Linked DNA regions of Homo sapiens: regions 1, 2, 3, 4, 5 and 6 are each linked to region 7. The links are contacts of gene promoters, found by promoter capture Hi-C in blood cells and fetal thymus (Javierre and others, 2016). All regions are on one chromosome and are shown on one strand. Each heading gives the region's core, a stretch centred on a gene start or on the middle of the fragment in contact. The rest is flanking DNA. Distances are from core to core; before and after follow the strand shown.

Region 1 (2,940 bases), core at 338-2,837, 1.2 Mb before region 7:
TCCGGGTTCTAGCGATTCTCCTGCCTCAGCCTCCCCAGCAGCTGGGACTATAGGCGCATGCCACCATGCCCAGCTAATTGTTTTTTTATTGTTTAGTAGAGACGGGGTTTCACCATGTTGGCCAGGCTGGTCTCAAACTCCTGACCTCAGGTGATCCACCCACCTCAGCCTCCCAAAGTGCTGGGATTACAGGCGTGAGCCACCATACCTGGCTCTTGGCTAATTTTTAAAAATTTTTGGAGAGATTAGGGTTTCACCATGTTGTTCAGTCTGGTCTCAAACTCCTGGGCTTGAACGATCTTCCCACCTTGGCTTTCCAAAATGCTGGGATTATGGGCATGAACCACCATGTCTGGCCTAGATGAAGTTTTTCTAAAAGAATCCACTTGGCTAGGCATGGTGGCTCATGCCTTTTGGCACTTTGGGAGGCCGAGGTGGGTGGATCACCTGATGTCAGGGGTTCGAGACTAGCCTGGCCAACATGGTGAAACGCTGCCTCTACTAAAAATACAAAATTAGCTGGGCGTGGTGGTGGGCGCCTATATTCCCAGCTACTTGAGAGGCTGAGGCAGGAGAATCGCTTGAACCTGGGAGGCAGAGGTTGCAGTGAGCTGAGATCGTGCCATTGCACTCCAGCCTGGGCGACAGAGCCAGACTCTGTCTTAAAAAAAAAAAAACAAAAAAAACCCTTATATCTTATTTTAAAATGTTATGACTTCTTGCATATTCTGAAGTTAGTGGCTTCAAGAAGTTTGACCAGGCCGGGCGCAGTGGCTCACGCCTGTAATCCCAGCACTTTGGGAGGCCGAGGCAGGCAGATCACGAGGTTAGGAGATCGAGACCATCCTGGCTAACAGGGTGATACCCCATCTCTACTAAAAATACAAAAAATTAGCTGGGCGTGCTGGTGTGCACCTGTAATCCCAGCTACTCAGGAGGCTGAGGCAGGAGAATGGTGTGAACCCCGGAGGCGGAGCTTGCAGTGAGCCAAGATCGTGCCACTGCACTCCAGCTTGGGCGACAGAGCGAGACTCCATCTCAAGAAAAAAAAACAAAAAAAAAAGTTTGACCAGTGATTCTAGAACAGCTCTCTCCAGTAGAAATATAGTGAACCACAGATGATGATGATTTTTTTTTTTTGTCATTGATTGCTCCATTCTACATCAGCAGAAACAGAACCAGACAGGGAGTGACGAGATTTGCACCTGGGTCACACAGCTGATCTGTGGCAGAGGTGGGGTCTCAACTTCTGGCTTTTAGCCGTGCCTTTTTTTTTTTTTTTTTTGGCATAACATCATATTGCCTTAGTGCCCTCAAAATATTATTTGTCCAGTTTGTAGTTACTGACTATTGGAGGCCAAGTCTTGATCTAGGCCCACTTACCATGGGGTACACTTGTCCCTCTTCCTCATGGAAACAATTTCATCCTGACACTCTCAAAGCACATTTCATCCTGTACTGACTTCACCTTTTTTAAATCACAAAATTTACTTAGAAAGGACCTGACATTTAGAGTCAGAAAGGAACACACATTACTGAACACCTTCCTTGGGCATGGTATTTTCAGGGAGCTATGCATGTCTGGTGGGGCCAGCCCTCTAAAAAGTGGAGACAAGAAACAACCTACTCATAATCCCACAGTCTCCCCAAGGAGCCAGAGATTCTTGGGTCTAGCTAACCTCCTTTATTTTCTTAACAGCAAGTACTATAACCTTAACTTGTGCCCATAGAAAGAACTACAGAGGCCAGGCGGGGTGGCTCACACCTGTAATCCTAGCACTTTGGGAGGCCAAGGCGGGCGAATTGCCTGAGGTCAGGAGTTTGAGACCAGTCTAGCCAACATGGTGAAACCCCATCTCTACTAAAAATACAAAAAAATTAGCTGGGCGTGGTGGCATGCGCCTGTAATCCGAGCTACTTGGGAGGCTGAGGCAGGGGAATTGCTTGAACTCGGGAGGCGGAGGTTGCAGTGAGCCGAGATTGCCCCACTGCACTCCAGCCTGGGCGACAGAGTGAGACTCTGTCTCAAAAAAAAAAAAAAAAAAAAAAGCCACGGAGACATTGGGAGCATTCAGGGCATTGGATCACTGGAGGGGCTTCAAAGCCAGGGGAGCCCACCTTTGAGGCTGAATTTCTCACCTACTAGCTTTGGGACCTTGGTCAGGTGACTTTTCCAAACCTTGGTTTTCCCATCTGTAAAGTGAGTATAGGCAGTACAGCCCCTCTCTAGGACTGTGTGTAGGGAGATGGTGCTTGGTCACACAGCACTCAACGAATGCAGGTCGTTAACAGTGGGAGACAATAGTAACTCAGATTTATTGAGCACTTACTGTTGGCCTGGCGCTTGCCATCAATGAACTCATTAAAAAAAATTTTTTTTTTTTTTGAGATGAGGTCTTATTCTGTAGTCTAGACTGGAATGCAGTGGTGCAATCACAGCTCACTGCAGCCTTGACCTCGCTGGGCTCAGGTGATCCTCCCATCTCAGCCTTCTGAGTAGCTGGGACCACAGGTGTGTGCCACCCGCCCAGCTAATTTTTATGTATTTTTTGTAGAGATAGAGTTTTGCCATGTTGCCTAGGCAGGTCTCCAACTCCAGGGTTCGAGCAATCCACCCATCTTGGCTTCCCAAAGTGCTAGGATTACAGGCATGAGCACCACACCCAGCCATTTTTTTAAATTTAAATTTTATTTATTTATTTATGAATTAATTAATTAATGACAGGATCTGACTCTGTTGCCCAGGCTGGAGTGCAGTGGCACAGTCATGGCTCACTGAAGCCTCAAACTTCTGGGCTTAAGCGATCCTCCCGCCCCAGCCTCCTGAGTAGCTGTAGCTGGGACTACAGGAAGACAGGACCACATACAGCTAATTTTTTATTTTATTTTAGGGAAAGGTGCTATCTCTCTGTGTGTTGCCCAGGCTGGTCTTGAGCTTCT
Region 2 (2,861 bases), core at 279-2,778, 1.1 Mb before region 7:
TTGGGATATAAATATATACCCATGATGTGCCCCTACACTGTCAGTGGACCTTAGACAAATATTTCCACTTGTACTATGTGATTCTTCTTAGAGAATACTCCTTTATATGTGTTTGTATTATATGGAGAATTTGTGCTATATGTTCTGGTTATAATTCTGAAAACACTGTGGTCATTTTTTCCCTAGATTGCTATGCAGAACCAAATCAACACAAACCCAGAGAGTCCTGACACTGTGACAATACATGCTGCAACACCACAGTTTATCATTGGACCTGGAGGGGTGGTGAACCTAACAGGTCTGGTATCTTCAGAAAATTCATCCAAGGCAACAGGTATTGAGATGCATATAGGATAGGCTTTGGGATTTTATGCTTTAGTAGGTATTCATCCTTGTAAGAAAGGACGGTTGGAGAATGAGGGTAAGATTCTATCAGCCACCTTTGTTTTCTTTGGTATAACTGGCAAAAAGATTTTTATGAGACAAAACAATCTGAAGAAAGGTGATATTACAAAATTTACTGCAGTATTACCTTTCAAAAGCTAATGCTATCCAAGCTTTGTTTAAGAGTCAGTAAGATAAATAGAATATCAGAAATATGCATTGGATTAAGCTCCTTAGAAATTCAAATCTATTTTCTTTTTTCTTACAGATGAAACGGGTGTATCTGCTGTTCAGTTTGGAAACTCTTCTACATCAGTATTAGCTACATTAGCTGCCTTAGCTGAAGCATCTGCTCCATTGTCCAATTCTTCAGAAACTCCAGGTTAGAAAAACGAGTCTAATGTGTACATTAAAATTGCAGATTCAGGCTGGGTGCCGTGGCTCACACCTGTAATCCTAGCACTTTGGGAGGGCGAGGCGGGTGGATTGCCTGAGCTCAGGAGTTTGAGACCAGCCTGGACAACATAGTGAAACTCTGTTTCTACTAAAAATACAGAAAATTAGCCAGGCGTGGTGGCACATGGCCTGTAATCCCAGCTACTCGGGAGGCTGAGGCAGGAGGATTGCTTGAACCCGGGAGGTGAAGGCTGCAGTGAGCTGAGTTTGTGCCACTGCACTCCAGCCTGGGTGATAGAGCAAGACTCTGTCTCAAAAAAAAAAAAAAAAAAAAAAAACCAAAAACAGTTGCAGATTCAAATATTTACAAAGGCCAGGAAGACAATAAAAGGCTAAAGTGGGCAGGATTGAGATTACACCCGGCTGAAGAATGGGGCAAGGGCAGGGAGGCATCTGTGACTCAACTCTAGCTGATTATAGTCATCAGTCCAGTATTCCCAAATTCTGTTTTTTAATAGGAAGCTGTGAATCTGGATTTTAAAAGAACATTAAATCTTGGTAACTAATTGAAAAACAAAACTTGTGTGGCTCACAGAAAAAAATGTCCCTGTCTCTAATTTGGCTCTTGATTTACTAGTTTGTGACTTTTTGTTTAAACAACTCACTTTGGCTGGGCATGGTAGCTCACACCTGTAATCCTAACACTTTGAGAGGCCAAGATAGGTGGATTGCTTGAGCCCAGAACCCTGGGCAACATGGTGAAACCCTATCTCTACCAAAAAATATAAAAATTAGTCAGGTGTGGTGGTCCACTCCTGTGGTCCCAGCTGCTCAGGAGGCTGAGGTCAGAGGATCGCTTGAACCTGGGAGGCAGAGGTTGCCATGAGCCAAGATCATGCCACTGCATTCCAGCCTAGGCGACTGAATGAGACCCTGCCTCAAAAAAAAAACCCAAAACCAAAAAACACTTTTTTCATAAATTTTAATTTTTAGCAGCTCTACTAGAGTGTTATAAAATCTTAATGACTGATAGAACTAGGAAATAGTATACAGAAACCACTGTTAAAGGGTTACCTGGCTGGGTGCGGTGGCTTGCTCCTGTAAGCCCAGCACTTTGGGAGGCTGAGGCGGGTGGATCACCTGAGGTCAGGAGTTCGAGACCAGCCTGACCAATATGGAGAAATCCCGTCTCTGCTAAAAATACAAAATTAGCCAGGCGTAGTGGCCCATGCCTGTAATCCCAGCTACTCGGGAGGCTGAGGCAGGAGAATGGCTTGAACCCGGGAGGTGGAGGTTGCGGTGAGCCGAGATCACGCCATTGCACTCCAGCCTGGGCAACAAGAGCAAAACTCTGTCTCAAAAAGAAATGAAAGGGTTACCTGTTGTTAAATGATGACAAACAGTATTCATGAACATTTGGTTTATACAAGATTTACCTTTATACTTAACCAAAATACTTCTTGATGTAATTATTATGTCGGTAAAATTTAATTAGGAAATTTTTTAAATTCCAAGAAAATATTTTTCTGTAGCTTAAGCCATTATATTTGGTTCAGTGCTTATAAAAGCAAAGAATAATTTGTCATTCATTTTTTAAATTAGTGTTTTTTCAAAATTTGATCAATAATAACAACATTTCATCAAATGCTTACTCTCTCTGCTAGGCACTGTGATAAATATTTTACTTATAATCTCATTTATTCCTCACCAGAAAGCTTTAAGGTGGATATTACTGTAATATTCTTGACTTGGAGGAGTTGGGGGAATGCTACCTTTTTCTTTTCTCTTTTTCTTTTCTTTTCTCTTTCTTTTTTTTTTTTTTTGACATGGAGTCTCATTTTGTCACACAGGCTGGAGTACAGTGGTACAGTTTTGGCTCACTGCAGCCTCCATCTCCCAGGTTCAAGCAGTTCTCCTGCCTCAGCCTCCCCAGTAGCTGGGATTACAGGCATGCACCACCACACCCAGCTATTTTTTGTATTTTTAGTAGGGACGGGGTTTCACCATGTTGGCCAAGCTGGTCTCGAACTCCTCACCTCAGTGATCTGCCTTCCTCGGCCTCCCAAGGTGCTAGGATTACA
Region 3 (2,818 bases), core at 190-2,689, 1.6 Mb before region 7:
AAGTGACTGGACAGGCCGGGTGCGGTGGCTCATGCCTGTAATCCCAACACTTTGGGAGGCCAAAGCGGGTGGATCACCTGAGGTCGAGAGTTTGAGACCAGCCTGACCAACATGGTGAAACCCCGTCTCTACTAAAAATACAAAATTAGCCGGGTGTGGTGGCACGCGCCTGTAATCCCAGCTACTGGGGAGGCTGAGGCAGGAGAATTGCTTGAACCTGGGAGGCGGAGGTTGCAGTGTGCCGAGATTGCACCATCGCACTCCGGCCTGGGCAAGAAAAGCGAAACTCCGTCTCAAAAAAAAAAAAAAAAAAAAAAGAGAAAGGAAAAGAAAAGAAAGTGACTGGACAGGTACTTTAGATTGGGTATGTCAGGAAGTCCCGTCTGGGGAAGCGACATTGAAGCTGATAAGTGAATGTCAACAAGGCAGGCATTCTGAGCTTTGGAGAGAAGAGCACTCCAGCAGGGAGGACTACCAGAGCAAAGTCCGGGCGGCCCACCAGAGCAAAGGCCGGGAGGGCCAAAGGTCCGTGCGCCTTAAAGTGTGGGAAAGTAGTGAAGATGGGGAGACAGGAAGGCAGGGGCCAGATTTACCTTTGCAGGCTAGAGTAGAGTTTTGATTTTTTTTTTTTTTTTTTTTTGGAGACCGAGTCTCGCTCTGTCGCCCAGGTTGGAGTGCAGTGGCACAATCTCGGCTCACTGCAACCTCCGCCTACCCGGTTCAAGCGATTCTACTGCCTCCGCCTCCCGAGTAGCTGGGACGACAGGTGCGTGCCACCACGCCCAGCTAATTTTTTGTATTTTTAGTACAGACTTGGTTCCACCATGTTGGCCAGGATGGTCTCGATTTCTTGACCTTGTGATCCGCCCACCTCGGCCATCCAAATGCTGGTATTACAGGTGTGAGCCATCACACCCGGCCAAGTTTTTATTTTATTCCAAGTGTGATAGAGAGAGACATGATCTGACTTATATGTTTTGAAAGATGGCTCTGGGACTGTTATGTGGCTACTGGGCTGTCCGGAGGGGAAACTGAGACCCGTTTGGAGGAGAGGGAAGTTGGTGGCCTGGATAGAGTGGTGGCAGCAGTTCTGGAGAAAGTGGATGGATCTGGGTTATGTGGTGAGTCAGAGTGGCCAGGAACAAATGACAGGCAGATGAATTAGGGTGACCCTTAGATTTCTGGCTGCATGCAACACTCGGGTAGTTACTGGGGAACCGAGCAGACGCTCAGACACTTCCGAGCCTTGAGAAATCCGTTCTCCCGCCAGGCTTCGGTGTGAGTTAAAGTCGGGCAGCCGGAAAGCGACAGGCTCAGACCCGCAGCCGGTGGCCTCGTAGCGCCGGGACGCCGGGACGCCTGGATACCGGGAGAGCGCTGGGACTCTCCGAGCCCGGCGCGGGGGTTTCCGCATCTTACGGGCGGGGCCGGAAGAGGAAGTCGCGCTGCTGTGGCGGCCGCTGTAGCAGCGGCGGTCCAGTCGTAGCCCGGCCGCCCGCGCCTGTCCGGTCCGGTCCGGCCACGGAGGCAGCGCAGCGGCGGGACTCCGAGCCTACCCCGCCGAGTGAGCTGCGCCGCACCGTGCCGTCCCACCCGGCACCCACCAGTCCGATGGGGCCGCAGCGGCGGCTGTCCCCTGCCGGGGCCGCCCTACTCTGGGGCTTCCTGCTCCAGCTGGTAAGGGGGCGGGAAGGCGCGCAGGCCTCCCAGGGGCTGGGCGGGGCCGGGGCCAAGGCCGGGGCTCCCTTCCCCTACTCCTCGCCCGGCCTCCCCTCTGCCCGCACCTCCGCGGCCTGCTCTCGCACTCCTCTTTCCTCCCCTCCTCTTTCCATTACTCATCTCTTTCCTTCCACCCTCCTCTTTTCCACCCTCTTTCCCCCAACTTTCCCGCCCCCCACTCGGTTCCCGCCCATTGAAGTCTGGCGAAATACCTACCGCAAAAAGATCAGAGGAGCCCCTTAGGTTGCGTTGACCTTGATGCTTCTCGATAGTTGCTCACTGTCCCAGCATATTTAAAATTGACCTCTGGGTTTTATTGTCTAAGCCTTTCTTACCGCTTTTTACCCTTGGGAAGAAAAAAAAATTATACAAGGCGCCAGTATGTTTAGCGGTTCGAGGACTGCACTTTAATTGCACTAACACGGATGTCTTTTTAAAATTCCCTTCCCCCACTGTAGCTCCTGCTTCGCCTTAGGGCTCATTTGATTCTGTTATGAGGGTTTTTTTTTTTTGGAGGGGGGGTTTTAATAGCAGTAATTTAAAATAACTTTTAAAAGAAGACACCAAAATGTAATGCTTTTAGTGGTTTTCAGTTTTCTGCCTAATTTAAAGGGATGGGTGGGGAGCGTCGGTTAAATGTAAGTAAGAAATATGTGTTCATAGATTTGTTTTCATAGTCACAGAGAAGTAATAGTGTTTTAAAATTCAGCCTCAAGTAATTCGAGCTTCAGTGTGGGAGTGGGGTGTCAGGAACCCGGTGTTTCAGTTTTTGTTTCTAGTGACTTTTACTTAGGGAGTTTCAGGTTGGAAACTTACGCATGTTATTTATTACAGAATTGGTGTCGTGTAAGCTTGTTTCGTTCTATTAGAATGTGTGATTTCTTTGAAAGACTGTTTTGCTGACTCTCCAGTTTAAGGGGTTAGTATTAGTGAATACAAAAGTGTCTTTAATATTTATTGAAAAACCAAAATCTAAGCCAAAAAGTAAGTGCCTTTTGGTGTATTCATAACTTTGACAGGCAACATCAGGAACCTGAGAGAATGTATCTAAAAATTGCTGGGGGAGGGGAGTTCGATATAAAAAGAGCAACAAAGTAGC
Region 4 (2,700 bases), core at 13-2,512, 1.8 Mb before region 7:
GGGACGCCAAGGCGGGCGGATCGCGAGGTCAGGAGATCGAGACCATCCTCGCTAACACGGTGAAACCCCGTCTCTACGAAAAGTACAAAAAATTAGCCAGGCAGTGGCGGGCACTTGTAGTCCCAGCTACTCGGGAAGCTGAGGCAGGAGAATGGCGTGAACCCGGAAGGCGGAGCTTGTAGTGAGCCCAGATCGCGCCACTGCACTCCAGCCTGCGCGACAGAGCGAGACTCCGTCTCAAAAAAAAACAAAAATTAAAATTTTTAAAACCTTAAGGCTCCAGCGAGCCGAGATCGAGATCGCACCATTGCACTCCAGCCTGGGCGACAGAGAGAGACTCCGTCAATAAAAATTTAAAAATTTTAAAAGTTTAAGAATTTTTATAACTGCTCATTTTCAAAGCCCACTTGAGGCAGAGACTTAGCAAATTTTACATTTTGAGAGAACTGTGCTTTTTCTTTGCCCAACACGTTGTTGTAACCCAAGAACCTCAAGCTCCCCAAAGATATTCAACAAGAGGCTCACAGGATCTCTTCAGGTATGCGACATCTGAACTGTTGTTCAGTTGAAGGCACCGGGGGAGAGAAGGAAACTGAGTAGGGAAAAAAAACTTTGTGGAAGGTAAATAATGTCTGACACTTCCATCGCACTAGGTATTTTCACACGCTTGACATCTCACCCAATCCTCAAAACAAACAAAAAACCTATGAATTATGTATCAGTACTTTTCCACCACAACGTTGAGAAAACACACGGAGGCTCAGAGGTTACAGAGATGTGCCCCCGATCAAAGAGTCAGTGTCAGAACTAACTGTGGAAACTCGGCTTCCCTGCTGTCAGTCCCAGCAGGAAAGTGAAGCTTCCAGGCAGACGAAAGGACGAACCGACACAGCAGCCCCTGAGCCCCGCCGGAGGGCTAACCCCAGAGGCCCTGAAGTCTCGCCGCCCGGCCAGGGCCTCCTGGCGCGGGGGCCTCACTCCGATGTCCCTGAGCTCCCGGGCCGGCGGGCACCTACGTGCTTGGAGGTGAGGGCTGTGATGCCGCGGACAAGGCTGCCCAGCCTCGAGGAGAAGGACGCCTTGGCGGCCGCGGGCCCACCACCGGGCTGGTTCTGCAGAAAGAGTCCCGGCAGCGCCGTCAGCGTCTTCTCCACTATGTCGCTCATCGCCGCCGCCGCCCGCGATGCCGCCGCCGCCCGCGATCCCGTAGCCGCCCGGCTTCATGCCCGGCCGCCGCTGCCGGCCCGGCCTCCGTAGGCACTTCCTGTTTTTTGAATAAGAAATCTTTATTGGCGTCCCACCTGAACAAGTTCAGCGTCGTTCTCGCGAGAGGCCACCAGAGGGCGCAAGAGACCGCGGGGGTGGAAAAGGCCGCTCGCTCGAGATTGCGCGCGTAAGTAGACCTCCTTTCTCGCGACGGGGTAGCGGTTCCGGAATCCCCCAGAACCGTGAGTCCTCCTGAGGAAGCCGTCGGGGGCCTGGCCCTGTTAGGCACTGTCTCCCAGAGTCCCCCTTTCCCACTAGCCGCCTCCGCGTAGCCCGAGACCGCGTCAGGAGTTGCGTCTTCCTGGCTGCGCCTTTTTCGGGACGTCCCCGCGCCGTCCGCCGCCTCTCACTGTCCCCGGAGCGCGCGCCACCCGCCCGCTTCCCACAGGCGGTTTCACGCGGGTCCCCGGCGCCGCGCGCGGCTCCGGCCCTGGCGACTCTTGGGACACCCGAGTAGTTGCGTGATAGCGGGGCTGTCCTGAGGATTCGGCGTGCCAGGTTGAGAGCCCGTCGCGTGCCGGGGACTCGCGGCCACTGTCGCTTCCCGTCCGCCCCTCTTCTCCTGGGATTTGGGGAGGTGGGCGGGAAAGAGAACTGGTCGGCGGCCACCCTTGCCGACTCCTCCTCAGCAGGTCGCAGTTGAAAGGTCATCCTTCTAGAGCCCACTCCCCTGGCCCGGCGGGCAAGGATAGGTCTCCAAGTCCCACCCTCTCACAGCGCTCGGTTCTGTTCCACTTTAGAACAGGTCGCAGTTGCCACTACGTAAACAGCTCCCCATAGAGAGAGTATTTTATTCATTCCGATTGCTCCGTCTTTTATCTAGAACAGAGTCTGGTACAATGGCTCTCGAAATGTGGTCTGGTGACCTCAGGGTCGCTGAGACCCTTCTAGGGAATTCACAAAGTCAAAACAACATTGATAACGTTTCTTACGTGTTATTTGCCGTTTTTACCCTCATTCTGTTGGAAATGTACAGAGTTTTCAAGCGGCTAGATGACGATTGACTAGCTGGTAAAATGTATCCTGGAGTATCCTTGTGTTTTCTAGAATTTTCTAAGGTAGTAGGTTTAGGGCATAAATACGTGCGTTTTCAGAGATTAATGCAATTTGCTCTCAGTACTCCTAGTGTGTTTCTAGGAGGTAGGTTAGGTAGGTGGTGATAGCCTCCCTTCAAGGGGAACAAACTTGCTAAATAAATAGAACAAACCAGCCCATAGTGTACAAACCACATCCGAGGCTCCTGGTTAGAAAATTTTGCAGCAAAGAGGTACGAGAGCAGAAGGGAAAATCCCCAAACTCTCACAAGCGCAGAAACCCATGATCAGTGTCGTTGGGCTGAATTATACTCATTATAATAGTAAAAAAAAAAAAAAAAAAAAAACACCACTCCTGGGTGAAGATTTAAGATACTAATAAGACATGCAGTGTATGTAC
Region 5 (2,700 bases), core at 77-2,576, 1.0 Mb before region 7:
GCAGATCCCCAGTATCTTCTCCCTGGGGATCAGGTGGGGTCACCTTTGTTCTGCAGGGAGGGGACAGGATGCTAACAGCAGTTGAGAGCTGGAAGCAACATTGAAGCCTGCCTCATTAGAGAGGAGCAAACCAAGGGACAGAGAGGAGAAGTGACTTTCCCATGATCACACAGCCAGTCAAGCAGCAGAGGTGAGAAGAGCCCCTCTGGATCCACTAGAGTTCGCACTCAAGATCCTCTGCATTTTAATGCAGATGTTATAAGTATTGATTAAGAGCTTGGAATTTGGAGATAGATGGCTGGGCATGAGGCTTCACCTCTCAGGACCTCAGTGGTCTCATCTATAAAAGTCCTATAACAAAGCCTACCCATTGTGAGGATTAAAAACCACACTGCCTGTAGAGTGCTTAACACAGAACCTAGCACATTATCAGCTTCCACAACAGGTGGTCCTAAAAGATCATTATTTGCGATTCAAGGAAACACTGCCAACCTTTTTCTATACCTACAGTTCCGATCTGAACCTCCCTCTGCGAACCCCTTATGCCACGCTGTGGCTCGTCAGTCAAGGCGCCGAGAAGCCCTGGTGCCAGGGCAGGGCGATCCTCGGGGCTCACCTGGCGACACCAGCAGCACCTTCGCCCCGCAGCACTGGAAGCAGTGCAGCAGGGACTTCGCGCGGATGTTGTAATTGAGGCACGCCATGGCACAGCCCAGCTTCACCAGCCCCAGCCACAGCCACACGTAGGCCGGCTCGTTACCCATAAGGAGCGCCACGCAGTCTCCCTGGCGCAGGCCGAGGTGGTCGTGCAGCGCCCGGGCCACTTGATTGCTGCGCCGGTCCACCTGCGCGTAGGTGAGAGTCTCGTCGCGGAAGAGCAGAAAAGGCTTGTGTGGCGTCTGGCGCGCTTTCTCCAGGAACGCCCGCAGGATGGTGCGCGCCGGCCGCCGCTTCCCGTAGCTGCGCACCCTCCGGCCCACGGCGGCCACCTTCAAGAAGTAGCCTATGTCCTGGAAGAAGTATGGGCAGCAGAGGTTCACCAGGAGCGGCAGGAACAGCAGTCCCGCCAGGACTGTGTAGATGGCGGAAAGCATGACGGCTGCGGGGCCCTCTGTCCCAGCGAGGGCAGAGGGTTCACCCCGGGCGTGCAGCGCGGCGACTGGGCGGGCTCCGGGCGGACTGGCGGGCTGCGCCGGGGCGCACGCGGCGGGACGCCGGGCTCGCGTGAGATGAAGGGGAAGACAGAGCTCCTCCGCTGCAGGTACCGCCGCGGGCTCCGGAGCAGGTGTAGTCGTATGCGCGTTGCCGGGGGTTCCGGGCAGGACTGGCCGGCTGAGCCCGCCCCCTTGTGGGGGGCAGCCACCTGCTCTCCCGGCCCTCCCACGCGGTCCTCCCGGGGCTGGGCAGGCTGCCCTGCGGCTCACCAGGAGCCTCGGCCACTTCCCAGCTCGAGTCTGGAGGTCTGGGGTCAAGTCTGGACCTCCTCGCGTTGTGACCGAAGTACTTTACCTCTAGGAGCCACGGTTTCTTTAAATGGTGATGAGACGCGCTTAGCGGACGTTGGGAATATTAAAGGAGATATTGCAGGCGTGGGGCTATTATTTGTTACCACTAATAGAATGGCTTATGGAGATGACACTGTTATTACCGATAAAGTGCCTTATAAATGTCAGACAGTCCTATTATTTATTAATAGCGGGTACCAGGTGCCACTGCCAAACCAGAATCTCATCTCTCCTTCCTGGTCCCAAGGGCTTTCCGCCTGGTCTCTCTTTGTTTCTCAGATTTGCTTCCCAGCCCGACTGCCAGGCGGTCTCCTGTAGCGAAGGCTTCAAGGTTGAACAGAAATGCCTGTGGCAGTCACGTCCAGCTCATCCCAAGCCCTGCCAGGTGAGTGAGGGCAGGACACTCTAACCTAGTCGGCCCTGCCTGGTCGGGGGAGTCCTGATTTCGTGAAGAGCAGTGCTACACCGCACCACCTGAAATCAAGCTTTGACATTATTTTACGATTTTGTTCTGTTAAGTGATCCTGCTGTTCCCTCATGTTGAAAGTTGTCAAGTGTTGTCAGCACAGTTCACACATTTAATAAGTGGCTCTGTCAGAGAATAGTATAGTACAGAGGACATTGAGTAAGTGGTATTGGCATGACTCAAAAACCATTTCTTTTAGAGGAAATGTGAACCTTTCTTTTAATTTGCCTTAGTGCTACTTCTGTACGAAGTGAATGCTCACTACTTGCCACTGAGGAGGGTCAGGATCTAAGTAGTGTTTTATTTTCATCCTCTACTGTCCTCCTGTGTTCCTCTATCTTAATTTGATACGATAAATACAGATAATGCTTATTCCTCCCAGACACGCTGCTAGGAGCTTCCCTATGTTACATTTTGGGAGCCTGAGTTATTTTATACAGGTGGCACTTTCATGCTCATTTACAGACAAGAAAGGGAAGCTTAGGTGAATTGAGACAGCCGGTAAGTAATTCGTGGGTTTTGGAAATGGTATCTGTTTGGTCCCGGGGAACCAACTCTTAGCTTATTCTTAGTAACTATACTATGCTGTCCTCCTATTCTCTAGGTTTCTGTCCATGTCCTCTTTTTTTTTCGGTGTGTGTAAAACACACAAAAATGTTTCACATTCCCTCCAGGCCACCCCCTGCCGTTTTTTAGCCTCCTTTTCGTATCCCTAGTAACTGCGCAAGC
Region 6 (2,788 bases), core at 140-2,639, 1.2 Mb before region 7:
GGAGGCTGAGGTGGGAGGATCGCTTGAGCCCAGGTTGAGGCTGCAGTGAGCTGAGATCACATCACGGCCTTCCAGCCTGCATGGGCGACAAGGTGAGACCTTATTCCCTCCACCTCCCCAAAAGATGAAATGAATTCATTTGTTTGATGCTATTAGAATACCAGTAACTCCCCTTACTTTGGCCCCAAATTCACAAATGAACCCTCCAAAAGGTAATGCAGTTAACTTCATGCATTCTCTTTAAACAATGTACTGAGTCTTTATGCCAGGGAATTTGGAATTAACAGATACAGTACAGGTCTCTCATTTCAAAGTAGTATTCCTAATCATGAAGGAAATGAGAGACCTGTACTGGAATCCTGTCTTTAACACCTTTGAGGATGGTGAATTTAGGTAAGTTATTCAACCTATTTTAGCCTCGGTTTCTTCATTGGAAAAATGGGGCAAACAATACTTATTTTACAGAGTTGTGAGGATTAAATGAGACAATATATATAATATGCTTTGCACAGTGGCTGGCATACAGGAAACGTTTAATATATGGTAGCTACTATAAACTCGGTTATTTCCGTGTAGCTTTCCATGTCTACATGGAGGGAGAAAATGAGCAGATGTCCATTATAATTTAGCTATTACAGTTTTCACTCTAAAGTAAAAAAGGCATTTAGATTTATATGTCTTCTGGGAGTTTGGTTCTTCTGACTCCCTTCATCTGTGAGACCATAGGTACTTTTATGTAATATGATAAAAATTATTAGAAAAAGAAAAAAACGGCCGGGTGCAGTGGCTCACACCTGTAATCCCAGCGCTTTGGGAGGCCAAGGCAGGTAGATCACCTGAGGTTGGGAGTTCGAGACCAGCCTGACCAACATGGAGAAACCCGTCTCTACTAAAAATACAAAATTAGCAGGGTATGGTGGTGCATGCTTGTAATCCCAGCTACTTGGGAGGCTGAGGTAGGAGTATCGCTTCAACTCAGGAGGCAGAGGTTGCGGTGAGCCAAGATCGCACCATTGCACTCCAGCCTGGGCAATAAGAGCGAAACTCTGTCTCAAAAAAGAAAAAAATAAACTAAAAAGGAAAAAAGGGCCGGGCACGGTGGCTTACGCCTGTAATCCCAGCACTTTGGGAGGCTGAGGCAGGCGGATCACAAGGTCAGGCAATGAAGACCATCCTGGCCAACATGGTGAAACCCCGTCTCTACTGAAAATACAAAAATTAGCTGGATGTGGTGGTGCACACCTGTAATCCCAGCTATTTGGGAGGCTGAGGCAGGAGAATCGCTTGAACCCAGGAGGCAGAGGTTGCAGTGAGCCGAGACTGCACCACTGCACTCCAGCCTGGCGACAGAAAAAGACTCCCATCTCGAACACAAAAAACAAACAAAAAAAGGGAAATAAAGAATATGCAAAGTACAATCCCTCAAATTTTTATTAGACCCACAGAAATAAAATTAGTCTGTTAAACTGCTATAAGTTTCTAAATTCTTACTTTCTGTAAATGCCTTGACATGGATGTGTAACAAAGGGCTTACAGACTGGCACTGCCTTGTGGACCACACTTTTGGTGAGACTGCTCTAGAGCGCTGACAAAAATCAGACTTTGAATCCACAGGGCTGAAGTCAAAGCAACTGAAGGGTGTCCTGACTCACCAGCTGGCCACCTAGTGGCCTCCTTCTAGTCATAAGCACAACCTTGTGTCACTCCTTAGTTCAAAAACCATCCATTATTCTGCCTGACTCAAGGGTAAAATCTCAGTCCTTTAATCTGACATCCAAGGCCTTCCAGAGCTGGTTCTAAACAACTTTTTAAGTCTGACTTTCCACTATCCTCTACTTCACTAGACTGCATTGTCCAATATGGTAATAACTTGTCCCACTTGAAATGCAGAAGTGAAATGAGGCTAATTTAGGAACTGAATTCATAATCCTAACTTTAATTTAAAATAAAATTTAAAAATATACACGATTCGATTACCGTAAAACTTTTAAGTATGCTTGGAACGACTTGGGTACGTGAATCTATTTTTTCAGCTGGAAATTTTATGAAATCAAGTACTGAGATATGCTATAAGTATAAAATACACACCAGATTTCAAATGCTTAGTTATGAGAAAGATAATGTAAAATATTTTTAATATTTAGTAATTTTTTATGTTGATCACATGTGAAATAATATTTGGATATGCTAGGGGTTAAAAGTGTAATTAAAATTAATTCCACCTAGACAACATGCCCCAAACCTAGGCATCACTATTGATTCCTCCCTTTCCTCATTTAATTGGTAAGCAAGATAGGTCAGCTTTTTGGATCCATCCACTTCCCTCATCTCTACTGCTACTATCCTAGTCCATGATACTCCATTTCTTTTTTTTTTTTTTTTTTTTTTGAGACGGAGTCTCGCTCTGTCGCCCAGGCTGGAGTGCAGTGGCACGATCTCGGCTCACTGCAAGCCCTGCCTCCTGGGTTCACGCCATTATCCTGCCTCAGCCTCCCGAGTAGCTGGGACTACAGGCGCCCGCCACCACGCCTGGCTAATTTTTAAAAAAATTTTTTATTTTGAATAGAGACGGGGTTTCACCATGTTAGCCAGGATGGTCTCCATCTCCTGACCTCTTGATCCTCCCACCTCGGCCTCCCAAAGTGCTGGGATTACAGGCGTGAGCCACCGCGCCCGGCCAGATACTCCATTTCTTAAATCCTTCAATGGCTTCCAGTGCACTTCACCTTCTTATTGAGGCTGAAGACTTCACCTCCTATCATTCCTTCTTTTGGTCACTAGATTTCGG
Region 7 (2,700 bases), core at 171-2,670:
CAGTCTATGGCAATCTTGAAAATTCAGGGAGCTCAATAAATATTAAGAGGATGCTCTCACAATGAGAGCATTAAACACTTGGTAATTAACATAATTTAATATGCAAAAATAAGAAAATATACAGGATGAGGGATGAGGAGTACACATAGGAAATTTTTGTGATTTTCTTCATTTTGATTGTATTGCTTTCTTGTCTTCAGGAGGGAAGATTTTGACTTCAAAAGTAACAAAATATTTAAGAAGGGAATTCACATCTTTCTGTTCTAAATGATATTCTTGCGCTATTTTCTCAGCAGTTCATGTTTCTGGATAAAGTTTATGATTATTGAAAAGTGTCAATGCTTCTACAGTGGAAATTTTGCCTTTGGGAATGCTCTTAATATTTATCATATCAAAGTGATGGCCTTTCGGCAATCTGAATTTCTTTGGCTCCTGACGTGTTTCAGCAGCTTTCAGCTGCACGGAAGACACAGGATCTTTGGAATCAACACACACATATTTTAGAAATGACAGCAGCTTGTCATCTTTACGAGCAATCTCTCCCTTAATTTCTGGATAGAGACTAATCTGCTCTGGCAGGAGGCTGCTGGTAGAGGGGTGCCTGGGAGCGAGAGAGGGCTTCATGTTGCGGATTTCCCTTTCCGCTCGGTTCTCTTGAAATTCCTGATCCCGCGAGTCACCGCAGCCCCCATCTCCTTACAACATGATGCCCTCAGGTTCACAGTAATGTATTTTTTAAAAACCAGTCGTTGTTACCTTAATTTGGTCCCAAGGGCTGTAAAGGTCAGTTTACAACTCGTTGAACAACTGAGTAAGATTTAAGGCAACTCAACTGATAGCTGCATACCTAATTTAGGATATCCATAGAATTGTTTTGTCAACTACAAATATAACAAGCATTAAGTGTAAACTGTGTTGCTGAAAAGTACTCCAAGTATCTTAGGAACACCCACCGCAATGTGTGGGCTAAATGCACACGTACAATGATAGCAGAAATAATACCTGTCATATAGGACGGGCATGTCAGCCTTTTCTCCGCGAAAGGCTTCTGGTCCTAAGCTGTCCCTTACTTTCACCGGAATGAGATGCGTCCAGAGTCCCAAGCAAGGGAGGAGACTGCTCCTTTACCCAGGAGGCTGGAAACTGCTCGATGCGAGCGCAGTTTCCGACGCCCTTCGGCTGAGACCTGCAGCACCGGACGATGTCCCAGTTGCCAGCTTTAGTTGCTAAGGCACCAACCACTTCGGAGGAAACGGGGGGTGGTGCAGTCTCTTTTGGAGTCGTAGCGAATCAGCTACAAGTCGAGATAATTAGTTCCGGCAGGAAACAGCTCCTCTAAGAGGGACTGGAAGGCGGAAAGAAGCTGAGAGTGACGCCTCTGAGCCGCGGAGGATTGTGGGAGGAGGTTGTCTCCAATTTCTCCTCCCCCTCCCGGCCAAGATGTCTGACATGGAGGATGATTTCATGTGCGATGATGAGGAGGACTACGACCTGGTGAGGCGCAGGGAATGGAACTCTGAGGGTGGTGATGTGTCTTGTTTTCGGGGTCCGGGCCGGGGCGCCCGCGGCCTCTCCCCGTAGAGCATGTGCCGTTTACAGCCTCTCTCAGTGCGGTGACAGGACTGGTTTACCTCCTCCCCGTTCCCGCACCGGGCCCGGGCCCTGCTTCTCCAGCATGGGGGAAGGGAGGGCAAAGGAGGCAGCGAAGGGGGCCCCGGGCCTTGCCCTCCGAGTCTGAGCGCCTCTTCGGTTTACACGGATGCCCCTGGTCCCAGGCGTTCGGTTCTCTGTCTTCTGCCTCCCCACCGCGCTAGCCGCCTCGGTGACCATGCTGCGGTGTAGGCCCTGGCTTTGCCCTTTCGGGCCCAGCGTTCCGGGCCCCCACTTCTTCACACTGGAACTGAGCGGGTGCGAAATGCTAGGAGAAGTCAGAAAACGGGGGTGTCCTTACTGCTCCCAGGCCTGACTGCGAAACGCAACTTGTGAGTCTCCTGGAGACATAGCTTAAATAGTCTTGCCAGGGCCAGTTTTGGTCCGAGGTAAGTGTGTAGGGGAGAGTTCAGAGCAAAGATAACTGAAAAAAAGGTAGTCGAACCACTTTTTCAGTTCTTTATAAAGAAAAGCTGGGGAGGAGGTTTTGCTTGTGGTGTTTTTGGAGGACGGGTGAAAGATAATTGAACCCATGGCTTTTCCCTTAGAAATTTCCCAGTATACAAAGTTTAAAACAGCAACAGCATAGAAATAAACGAATTTTTCTGACCGAATGGAGATTTTTAAAGATTCAAAGCTTCATTTATTAATGGATTTGCAAGTTTGAATAACGTTTGCTATTCAAAAACATCGTGTGGAAACTCAGAAAATTATCTTGATCCAGAATTAACGTCAATTTTGCTGTGTTTCTTTATTTTGGGGGTGTTTCATATGGTTCTTTTATGGTGATGCTGCATTATCATAAAGTTACGAAATAGATGTTTTGGGACGTCTGACTCATTTTAAGTGCCAGAGATTGTCAAAATATTAATACATTGTTTTGAATTAGTCTATAACTTTTTCGTATATATTTTCAGTTTTTTGCATTTTAAAATAAGGCACACTTTGCAAAAGGGAGAAAGGAAATTCTCGCTATTATTTGAAAGTCATAGTAGAGATTTTTATAATTTTTAAAGTTAAATGTAGTTTCGCTAATAGTTATGGTTTCTA

The links. Contacts are between HindIII fragments. The CHiCAGO score rates a contact against its expected background, and 5 or more counts as called.
Region 1: a contact is called between a fragment that was not itself captured here and the fragment with the promoter of COPS2 in region 7, in 1 of 17 cell types (naive CD8 T cells). The highest score is 5.2, in naive CD8 T cells.
Region 2: a fragment that was not itself captured here is called in contact with the fragment with the promoter of COPS2 in region 7 in 3 of 17 cell types (total B cells, M0 macrophages and naive B cells); the score reaches 7.2 in total B cells.
Region 3: a contact is called between the fragment with the promoter of SPPL2A here and the fragment with the promoter of COPS2 in region 7, in 2 of 17 cell types (activated CD4 T cells and total B cells). The highest score is 6.1, in activated CD4 T cells.
Region 4: a contact is called between the fragment with the promoter of AP4E1 here and the fragment with the promoter of COPS2 in region 7, in 3 of 17 cell types (naive CD8 T cells, total B cells and fetal thymus). The highest score is 6.3, in naive CD8 T cells.
Region 5: the fragment with the promoter of SLC27A2 here is called in contact with the fragment with the promoter of COPS2 in region 7 in 1 of 17 cell types (erythroblasts); the score reaches 5.3 in erythroblasts.
Region 6: a fragment that was not itself captured here is called in contact with the fragment with the promoter of COPS2 in region 7 in 2 of 17 cell types (fetal thymus and total CD4 T cells); the score reaches 8.8 in fetal thymus.

Annotation. Positions count from the first base shown.
Region 1 is chr15:50,323,650-50,326,589 of GRCh38, reverse strand. The region is part of intron 1 of GABPB1 (GA binding protein transcription factor subunit beta 1); the gene reads left to right. Among named protein-coding and RNA genes, the nearest start is that of GABPB1-AS1, 29 kb to the left of the region's middle. The HindIII fragment of the contact is 8,148 bases long and covers 1-2,940 here.
Region 2 is chr15:50,298,694-50,301,554 of GRCh38, reverse strand. It overlaps GABPB1 (GA binding protein transcription factor subunit beta 1), which reads left to right. Exons shown (of 9, transcript NM_016654.5): 5 at 187-298; 6 at 653-766. Among named protein-coding and RNA genes, the nearest start is that of HDC, 34 kb to the right of the region's middle. The HindIII fragment of the contact is 1,938 bases long and covers 560-2,497 here.
Region 3 is chr15:50,764,327-50,767,144 of GRCh38, reverse strand. SPPL2A (signal peptide peptidase like 2A) reads left to right here and starts at 1,439. Exons shown (of 15, transcript NM_032802.4): 1 at 1,439-1,677. The coding sequence starts at 1,612. RefSeq lists a silencer at 1,405-1,864. The HindIII fragment of the contact is 3,596 bases long and covers 1-2,572 here.
Region 4 is chr15:50,907,245-50,909,944 of GRCh38, reverse strand. It overlaps AP4E1 (adaptor related protein complex 4 subunit epsilon 1), which reads right to left and starts at 1,262. Exons shown (of 21, transcript NM_007347.5): 1 at 1,017-1,262. The coding sequence starts at 1,166. RefSeq lists enhancers at 186-927, 974-1,143, 1,164-1,453, 928-1,669. The HindIII fragment of the contact is 3,809 bases long and covers 862-2,700 here.
Region 5 is chr15:50,180,822-50,183,521 of GRCh38, reverse strand. SLC27A2 (solute carrier family 27 member 2) reads right to left here and starts at 1,326. Exons shown (of 10, transcript NM_003645.4): 1 at 617-1,326. The coding sequence starts at 1,094. It also overlaps a transcript of ATP8B4 not described here. RefSeq lists silencers at 725-824, 1,095-1,434. The HindIII fragment of the contact is 4,085 bases long and covers 1-1,992 here.
Region 6 is chr15:50,357,905-50,360,692 of GRCh38, reverse strand. It overlaps GABPB1-AS1 (GABPB1 antisense RNA 1), which reads right to left. Exons shown (of 1, transcript NR_024490.1): 1 at 2,381-2,788. MIR4712 (microRNA 4712) reads right to left here and starts at 364; the gene lies at 283-364. The HindIII fragment of the contact is 6,184 bases long and covers 1-2,788 here.
Region 7 is chr15:49,154,319-49,157,018 of GRCh38, reverse strand. It overlaps COPS2 (COP9 signalosome subunit 2), which reads left to right and starts at 1,420. Exons shown (of 13, transcript NM_004236.4): 1 at 1,420-1,494. The coding sequence starts at 1,441. It also overlaps a transcript of GALK2 not described here and the pseudogene NDUFAF4P1. RefSeq lists enhancers at 468-1,386, 1,145-1,674. The HindIII fragment of the contact is 2,527 bases long and covers 1-2,289 here.